Regions from separate parts of the Homo sapiens genome. Here region 2 is linked to region 1. Evidence: promoter capture Hi-C in 16 types of primary human blood cells and fetal thymus (Javierre and others, 2016). All regions are on one chromosome and are shown on one strand. Each heading gives the region's core, a stretch centred on a gene start or on the middle of the fragment in contact. The rest is flanking DNA. Distances are from core to core; before and after follow the strand shown. Region 1 holds the start of PRELID2 (PRELI domain containing 2). Region 2 overlaps SH3RF2 (SH3 domain containing ring finger 2).

Region 1 (4,889 bases), core at 2,390-4,889:
GTCAGGATGGTCAGAAGAGGGAATTGAACCAACATGAAGAAGGTGAGAAAAGCAGAGAGACAGGGTCAGGGCTGGAGTTCTGTGTCACTTAAATCTTGCAGCATTTACAATCATTCATTCATTCATTCATTCAACCTAAATGTATTGGATGTCTACCATGTTTAAACTATTGTGCCTCCCTGTGAAGATACAAAAGGTATTTGATATCTTATGAAAGTTCTTTAGTAAGATATTTGGTATCTTAAAGACCAAATAAGGTCATGAACTTCTAAGGTTTGCCAGCAAATTTCCACCCTCAAGTCCCTGCCCAGTTAAGCCAACCAATTTCAAAGCGATGGAAATTTGTTTCACAGTTTCTTCTCGCTCCCTCAGAGGACCCAGCAAGTAAGATTACTGTTGTGCAAACTGGCTGTGATTCAGAGCTACAAGATAATAGGCTCATGTTGTCAAGTCTGGCACACGTTTCAGAAAGCCCCAACGTCCTTGGAATGGGCAGGTCACATTTGTTCTTACACAAGTCACTCAGCCAACCAGCCCCAAGTAGAGGTTGCAGGTGGTGGGGCCTTTAATCTTTCAGGACACACCATTGGCCTTTCATGGTTACTTAATCCGGAGATTAAGTCCTGCTTAAAGATACACTCTGGGAGAAACTGATGGTCAGAGTGGATTGAGGATACAGGGCCCAGGACCTACGCTAGCAGGGGGTTTGTATGTCACATCTGGTCTCCAGCTACTCTGGTAAAAGAGGCAGATACAAAATACCATAAACTCTGCAGGTAATTGATCTCTCCTTTGTGGACCTGTGTAGTCTCCCTGGAAGACTGCTTTTTGTTTTCCTGTAAGGAGGGATTGGTGATATAGTGGAGTGGCTTTTAAACATGCATCCAACACATGTAAGAGCATTTGCATCTCATTCTCCTCTCCACTCCTCCCTCTGTATTTCAAGGAAATGCTGCTTACAGGCTTAGTAAGGTGGGGATTAAGAATTAATTATTGGATTTAGCAATTTGGTCATTGGTGACCTTGACAACAGTCGTTTCGGTGAAGTGGTGGGGGCAAATACTGATTGGAATGGGCTCAAGAGATTACAGGCAGCTCTTTTGAGGAGCATCAGTGGACCAGAGACTCGGAATACAGCTGGAGGAAGATAGGGGGTTAAGAGTTGTTTTTTTTGTATTGTTTCTGTTTTTGTTTTTAGATGGAAGAAATTACAGTGTACTTGTTGTGCTGGCTGGAATGGCCCAGTAGAGACAAAAGCTGATGATACAGAAAGGAAGGGGGATATTGCTAGAGAGATGGCCTTGAACAAGAAAGAGGACAGGAACTTTTAGTGATGTACTAGAGCTGGCCATTCAACACAGCTATTATTAAAGTATATAAATTTACAATCACATATAAAAATTAATAAATATTTATTTATTTGAGATGGGTCTCACTCTGTGGCCCAGGCTGGAGTGCATGGCACGATCATAGTTCACTACAGCCTTGAACTTCCGGATTTAATAGAGCCTCTGGCCTTAGCCTCTCAAGTAGCTAGGACTACAGGTGTGCACTGCCACACCTGGCTAATTTTTTATTTTATTTTTTGTAGAGATGGGGTTTCACTATGTTGCCTACACTGGCCTCAAACTCTTGGCCTCAAGTGATCCTTCTGCCTTGGCCTCCCAAAGTGCTGAGGTTACAGGCATGAACCATAGGAGCCTGGCCAAAGAGTAATAAACATTGAAAACTCATCCCTTCCTGCTACATTTTCCATTATTTATGTTTTTGGTTCTTTATGGCTGTCGTATGTGGGTGGTGGAAATACTATGTGATGGTGTGCTTCTGTGCTTCCCTCCCCAACTCCCACTCCTCACTCAACTCCATGTTGCTAAATCCCCAACTTGTGTTTAGTGACATCGAGTTGGCATCTTTAAACATGGTAGGAGTATTTACACCACAGGAATCAGCAACCTTTGGAAATCAGGGCCTTGCTTGATTTATACTTTAAAGGACAGCTATTTGTTAAACATTTTTCAGTTCACCTCAGGATTCAGTGGACAAATGGAGACACTGGTGCTAAAACAAAGTGCTGACAGTTCACCCACAGGAACAAGAGTGAAGGCAAGGCATTTGGTCTGGTGGGTAGAGAGGTGGCAGAGCGATGTGACCTATTGACTAAGTGAAAATGGAAGTAAGGTAATGACTGGAGTATAAGGCTGGGAACAAAGGTGTCAGAGGTGTGGAGGAATGCGGGAGAGTAAGTGGATTAGAGAAATTCAGTACTCTCTTTTTTTTTTTTTTTTGAGATGGAGTCTTGCTCTTGTCGCCTAGGCTGGAGTGCAATGGGCGAGCTCTGCTCACTGCAACCTCCGTCTCCCGGGTTCAAGCGATTCTCCTGCCTCAGCCTCCGGAGTAGCTGGGACTACAGGCGCCCGCCATCACGCCTGGCTAATTTTTGTATTTTTAGTAGGGACAGGGTTTCACCATGTTGGCCAGGCTGGTCTGGAACTCCGGACCTCAGGCGATCCGCCCACCTTGGCCTCCCAAAGTGCTGGGATTACAGGCGTGAGTCACCGCACCCAGCCAGAAATACAGTACTTTCATAGTGTATTTGTCTGGCACCATTAAAAGGCGCCATAGGGTTAGTGGTTATGAACTTAAAAGATGCACAGTGGGTGTGTATTTTCCTTCAGCCCCTTCTGGTGGCTTGGGTAGAGACAGTCAGAGGAGACCTAGATTTACACAAGGCTAGGGTTTTGCCAGACCAGTGTGACTGCGTATGGCAGGGGCGAGCGAGATGGCAAAATCGTAAAAGTCATCACCTCAGAGACCCTCCATAATCACCCTCACTAAAATCATGTCCGCGCCCGTGTCACTTTAACCGATTATTGTTTTTATTTTCCCAGCTTGTTGATTGGGTGTGAAATCAGCCGGCTCATCAGCAGAGCTGGTGTTTCCTCCCTGCGGAATCCGCAGTGCCCACTACAGCGCTGGGGCATAGGAGGCCTCAGAACCGTGCTGAATACACGGATTAACGTGCTGGTTCTCCTAACATCTGTTGGTTGCAGTAAATAATAATACTCGCAACTCTTTTGTATCCTCTAGTTCCTTGCTCCGTGGTGTTTAACCTTAGCGAGCAAAGGAACTTACCTGCAGGTTTTGGTGCACTAAAACGCGGTTCTTATTCCCGAGGCAATCTTTACCTTACACGAGGCCCAAACCCAAGCCTCAGAGGCAGCTGCCTGGTGGCATGAGTAATGCTGGCCTTTGTCACACCAGGCCTTCCTTATTAATACTTTTTTCCCGTGCTGCCAACCACGGCTTATTCTGTGACTCCAGGCGGTGATACCATAAACGCATAAGCCCAAGGTCCAGGTTTCCTGGGGCGGGGCGTGATGGCTCCCAGGCAGAGAAGCTTTTCTCGGCAGGCGCGGCCGCGGGAGGGCACCAGGGCCGCTCTGGCGCCGCCAGCGTGGAGACCGCGGGGCCCCGGGTGCTCTGGGAGCGCTCCAGCGCCTCCCGCGCTCTGTAACCCCAGGCCCCGGACTCTGGCAGTAGGGGCGTGGGCGTGGCCGACTGCGCGTTTCTCCGAGTGGCCAATAAAGTTTCGAAAGTTTGAAAAGCGGAGGAAAAAGGCCACGCCCATGTGGCTGTCCGAGTGTGGGCGCCTCCGGGCCTCTGCGGAGCCCTGGGCAGCTCTGAGCTCGCGGAGGCGTGGCCGGTGCGCGGGGCCCGCGGCGCGCGGGGATGGGGGTCTCGGTGGATGTGCACCAGGTGTACAAGTACCCCTTCGAGCAGGTGGTCGCCAGCTTTCTCCGAAAGGTACCGCCCCGCTTCCACCTTCCGTATCCCGCGCTGCCTCCGCTGCTTGCCCCTCTCTCCTCTCCTTCATCCACGCGGAAGCTGGCACCGCCAGTGTCTCTTTCCAGCTGCGGGCTTTGCTTCAGGGATGTGTGGGTCGAGAGGGATTTCCTCGAAGACTCCCTTTACAGGGAGCGGGAAAAGGGGCCGTGCTTGGCATCACGTTCACACCTGCCCCAGCTGAAAGAAGAGGCTTTCCTTTTAGGAAGAGCCTCCGGGAATCCCAGCTCGTGAGCTCCGTGGAGTTGCAGATGACCGACGTGTGGAGCTTTCCGGTTCATCACTGACCCCTTAAAAGCGAGGGGAGGCCATTGGGCAGTCATCCTGGTTTACTCAGCATGATGGTTCTGCTGCCCCATCCGCTGCTCCTTATTAAACAGCTGTGGGACATCGTGCAGGTTGCTTACTCTCTTTGTGCCTTAGTTTGCTAATCTGTAAAATGGGGAAAATAATAGTACCGACTCATAGAGTTGTTGTGAGGATCCAAATGAGGTAACTTGTGTAAAGTGCTTAGCACAGTTGTGACCTAAATGAAGAAACTGAGGCAAAATCAATATAAAAAGAGAGTTCATTCGAGCCAAGTTTGAGGGCTGCATCCTGGGAGTGAAGGTGCCCTGAGTATACATTCTGATGAGCAGAAGTCGAAAGTGGGTTTTTAAAGGAGAATAAGAAGCACTTCCTAAGTTGTTTACCAAGAATTTATATTAAAATAACATAAACTATTGATTGTCTGTACATTGTTCTTTGTATCACAAATTCCAGGAACTTGAAGATAATGGGTAAGGCAGCTGGTCAGGAACAAAATGCCTTTAACCAGTTGCTCCCAGGAATGGGTTGGGTGAGGAGGGGACCACTAAAGTCCTATACTCTTGTCTCTCTGGGCTTGATTGATTTTGCATATTTCACTGTAACTCACACAATCTGCTCTGAGCTATTTTTCTTTTTCTCACTGCTACTGATGTTTAGTTAGGGCTCTAAAATGTTATTGTTGTTTGTATTACTACAACCGATTTCAATACAGATAATGAACTCTTCCTCAATACTGA
Region 2 (4,889 bases), core at 800-3,299, 230 kb before region 1:
ATCTCACGGTTTTGACTTGCTGCAAGAGAAAGGAGAGGAAATGGACACAGGTGAGGTGGGAGATGTCTATTTCCCCATGCTTGTCCCCACTTGAAATGTCTCATTTATGTGTTCATTCTGCAAATATCTGTGGCTACCATGAGTGTCAAGTGCTAAGATGGGGGAAGTACAAGATGCTGAGAATGCAGAGGAGCATCTAACTTCAGCTGGAAGTGGAGAAGCCAGGGAAGTCTTCCCAGAAGCTTTAAATTGAGAACCACAAAAGGATTAGGACTTATCTGGGAGAAATAGGGTAGGCCGCCGCCTATAAAAACAGCCTGAGGCAAGAGGGTATGATCCCTTCTGGAAGATTAAAGAAATTTACCTTGCCTCTCTCCTCTCTACGTACTATTAAGGCCAATCTCAAGTTTTTCCTTTTCTTTGAGGCCACTCTCCTGATGACTCCATTTAGAGATTTCCATAATGGCCTTATAAATCCTTAGAGCACAGTTTGCAAACTGGACACCTGCTGGCTGAATTTAGCCTGCAGAATGTTTGAGGGTTTGATCGACTCGCCAACACATAAAAATTGGGAGATTGCATATAAAAATCAGAATTTCATATGTCTCTTAAAAAAAAAATCAAAGCTCTGACGCACTGGGCCTATGGCTCATTCTGACAACAGCTGGCTGGACCTGAGAAGCAGTGCCCCCTTTATATGAGATGCAAGGTCTCCAGTTTATGCCAATTCCCCCTCTTCCTCTTTCCTTTCACATCTCCTAGCCTGTTATATATCTGCTAGGCACCCATAGGTACAGTATTTGCTTTAGCCAGTCTCTATCTCAGGGCCTAATAAAGCGTTCTGTGGTACTGCTCAGGAATGATGTCTTTCTTCCATGTAATGCAACCCTAGTATCCCCCACTAAGATCTGAGTTTCTTCATACGTTCTGATCCTCCTAATATCTAGCCAAGGTCTGGGCATTTATGAAATGCTTATAGTTGTATCTAAAAGCTTGGAGTAATGGGCAACTGGGGCCTAGAAAACTCTGAATTATTTCTATAATTCAGAATAAGAACTCCCAACCTTTATATATGTCAGTGCTTTTTCCAATACCTTTCCCTATGAGCTGATAGCTTAGCAGTAAGAGCATGAGTTTTGCATCAGATCTGGATTCTACTCCACACGTATGTGTCAACTGTGCGGTCTTGGGTAATGTTCTTTAACTCCCTGAGCTGCCATTTCCTAATTTTAAAATGAGGATGAAACTAATGCCTATTTGAGAGGGTTGTTGTCAGGATTAAATATATGGGACACATGAAGTACTCAGCACAGTGCCTGCCAGCTTGTTAGTATTCGATAACTGGTTAACCAATGGGGGAATCGCATCCTCTTTCCGTTCTGAGGGGAATGGACGATGATGGTGGAATGATGCTGATGGCGGTGGTGATGGAGGTGGTGATGGCGATGATGTGATGATGGTGATGTTCATAAATTAAGACAGCAATAAGCATCACCTAACTTTCTTACTGTCCTCTCTTCCCACTATTCCTCCTGCTTCAAGGATATTATTGAGAACATAAGCCTTTTACAAAAACTCTCACGTCTTCTAGTGGGAAATATCCTGGACTAGAAGTTAACAGATCTGACGTCTGCCACAGAGGTCACAATAAGGTAGTTGGAGTCATTATCATTCAGTGTGACCTCGATGTCACTTACATTATCCTGTGCCTCAGTTGCCCCTTTTATACAATGCATAATTATGTGTCAAACCCTATGTAAGCACTTCACATATCTCGTTTAATCTCCACTCCATTACTGTGTGGCCATTACTCTTTCTACCTCCATTTTACAGATTATGCAAACTAAGTGACTCAGAAGGGTGAAGTATTTTGACCAAAGTCACCCAGCTAGCAAGCAGCAAAGCTAGAATTCAAAGCAAGATTCATCTAATGCCAAAGTCATGCTTTTTTTTCAAGCCACTTTTGGGCCTCAAAAGATGTATAAAATATTCAGGAAACATAAAGGCGAATCAGTAACACATGTAGGGAGGGCGTGGGTGATGTTGGGGATGTTGGCCATGGCTCAGTGGGGAGTTGGGGAGGAGGAGTGTTATGTGTGAGGATTCTTTCGAGGCTGCAATTTTGGTTCCTTGTTCACCAACACTAAAATCTCTGAGCTGAGACACTATGCATAGTACGGGATCGAAAGAGTTGGGCCCCCAATGTCACTCTGATCCTACCTTTTCGATGCCATTTCTTGAGTTTTCTGGTTTCACCAGGATGGATGGTGGGGCAGATGCGGGCGGTTTTGGCAGAGGCTCACTCTTGATGGGGATTTCTTTGTCTTCCATAATGAGGGAGCTGGCCGCGGAGTGGATCCAGGCCTCACTGCCCCTGCTGATGCACGTGAGGGCGGGCTCCCCCGTGAGGGCAGGCTTGGACCCCATCTCCACCACCACGGCTGAGGGGGAGGAGGGGATCCCCTGTGGCTGGTAGAATTGGAACTGCTGAGGCCGAAGGACCATGGTGGGGCTGCGTCTGAGGGAGCCTACCACGAGAGTGGGGATCCCGGACTGGAGGGGTCTCTGCAGGGATCCATCTGGGGAATTATAGGACAGAGAGATCAGCAGCAGGGGCGGCTGGCAGTAGGTTGGGTGGGGCTGGGTAAGCAGTGCTTCCTGATATCCCAGAATAGACAAGCGCTTTCCTAATCTGACTGCACTCACATTCTCTCCGGGTCTTTCAAAGGTGACCTTATTCTTTTTTTAGTGCTGTTTGCTGATGCTGGCAGCAAATATCTCTCTGGCTGAATGGTGTGTGTGAGTGTGTATGTGTGTATGTGTGTAGGGGGGCTGTCAGAAGGTATATTGCTTCCATTTGCCTTGTGATACACACACACACACGCACACACACACGTACACACACACACGCGCGCGTGAAGCAGACACAGAGGCAGTCAGACCAAATAGGAAACACATGACAGAATCAGAGATAGGAAATAGAAGACATTGAGAAACACAAAGGAGAGGCAACCGAGAAGAATGAGAGAGAGGAAAAGGAGAAAGAGAGGAGGAGAGAGGAAAACTCTGCCCAGCGACTTGCTGTGAAAATCTTGACAGAAGCTTTAGGCATGTGGCAGGTGGGGGTTGCTTTTTGTCGGGGGCTGCAGGGAGAAAGGGTGAGTGGCAAGGGCTAGGCAAGCACAACAGCAGACAAAGGCAAATTTGGAAAGGTTATTCCACAGTTAGGGCTGTGAGGATGGGCTTTGCAATGTCTCATGACAGAGGATCTGGAATCAGACCTCCTCCTGGAAAGCCTGGGATGAGTTAAGTCACGTCACCTCTCTGCACCTCAGTTCTCTCGTTTGTAAGCTGGAGATAATAACAGTACATCATTGGGCTGCTGTGAGGATTGCATTCTATTTGGTGTGCAAAGTATCAGGATAGTGCCTGGAATATGATAAATGCCGCATGTCTGTTAGCTATCATTATTTTTGGGTAAAGGATCACATATCCTAAAAATGCAAGGTCCAAGAGCTTGGTTTTGTCCCTTCCTGAGCTCATTGTTTTTCTTTTCCTTTTTTTTTTTTTTTTAAATTGAGATGGTCCTGTCTCAGGAAAAGGTCATTTCTTCCCCTCAAATTCTCTGGAAGGCAGGAGATCCCCATCCATTGGACATATATCCTGTAGGTGACCTGGGGAATCAGGAGTTCATTGCATTCTGTGGGGAAGTGGAGGAGACACCCATGAGAAACACACTGGGCCATTTCTCCATAGGGGCCCCTCAGCATTTAGAGAAGCTGTAGGTTTTGTCCCAGCCAGCGTTGTTAGTCCTTTGTGACACTCCAAGGACTTGAGTTTGAATCAAAGTCATTTGTGTCCAGCACAGAGGGTCTGAGCCAAGGCCACGTCTGCATCGTGACTTCTTATTAAGCCAGATGTGTACATGAAAAGCAGGACACTCGCTAAACACAGTCGGTGTCCTCAGCTGCTGCAAGCAAGACAGTCACCATCTACACAAGTGTGACCCTTTCAATTTAGACATTTATTTTTCCACTAACGGCCCTGTGGGGTTCACGCAGTCAATTCTCCTGCCATTTCTCTTTGCTCTGGAGAGACTGATAGCTTGCCAGCCTCACCTTGGGAAAAGAGAGAAAGAGAAAGCCTCCCGGACCTGGGAAGTCAAAGCAGCACCAGGCAGACATGTCCTTAGGCTCTTGTAAATGTGTGAAAAATTGGCTTTATGCCTTATCTATTTATCTTGTCAATTCCTAATTTCCAAGAGATTTAATGCTTTCTTATTACATGTGTATACAATGCAAGCAGTCGAGGCTCCATGCCAATCAAGGTTTTGCAAAGGTGGAGAGGGAGTATATTAAGGAAAGTGTGAGCAATTGCTTTCAGGATGCAACTCTGCATACCTAAGTGGTCTAGACTGAGTGTGAACATTTCTCGTTTTTTAAATCAAATATATATATATAGATAGATAGATAGATAGAGAGAGAGAGAGAGAGAGAGAGAGAGAGAGAGAGAGAGACACTAACAGCCCAGACTGGAGTACAGTAGGAGATTGTAGCTCACTGCAGTCTCAACCTTCCCGGCTCAAGCCATCCTCCTGCCTCAGCCCCAAAAGTAGCTGAGACCACAGGCAAGTGCCACCATACTTGGTTTGTTCTTTTAATTTTTTTTTTAGAGATGAGGTCTCACTATATTGCCCAGGCTGGTCTTGAACTCCTGAGCTCAAGTAATGTTCCCACCTCAGCCTCCCAAAGTGCTAGGGTTACAGGTGTGAGCCACACACATTCAGCCGTGTATGAACCTTTCAACCTTAAGTGAGTTCGTGCTCTGGATGGACCAAAGATGATCTTGATTGCAGTAGCAATGATAGTAATAAAAAAATACTATAAAAA

What was found. The method cuts DNA at HindIII sites, captures the fragments that hold promoters and counts their contacts. A CHiCAGO score of 5 or more calls a contact.
Region 2: a contact is called between a fragment that was not itself captured here and the fragment with the promoter of PRELID2 in region 1, in 1 of 17 cell types (M0 macrophages). The highest score is 5.8, in M0 macrophages.

What each region holds. Positions count from the first base shown.
Region 1 is chr5:145,834,092-145,838,980 of GRCh38, reverse strand. PRELID2 (PRELI domain containing 2) reads left to right here and starts at 3,639. Exons shown (of 7, transcript NM_205846.3): 1 at 3,639-3,804. The coding sequence starts at 3,730. RefSeq lists a silencer at 3,328-3,447. The HindIII fragment of the contact is 2,489 bases long and covers 3,400-4,889 here.
Region 2 is chr5:146,057,556-146,062,444 of GRCh38, reverse strand. It overlaps SH3RF2 (SH3 domain containing ring finger 2), which reads right to left. Exons shown (of 10, transcript NM_152550.4): 9 at 2,221-2,579; 10 at 1-19. All of the region lies in intron 1 of LOC107986458 (a long non-coding RNA gene), which reads left to right. Among named protein-coding and RNA genes, the nearest start is that of PLAC8L1, 46 kb to the left of the region's middle. The HindIII fragment of the contact is 2,110 bases long and covers 995-3,104 here.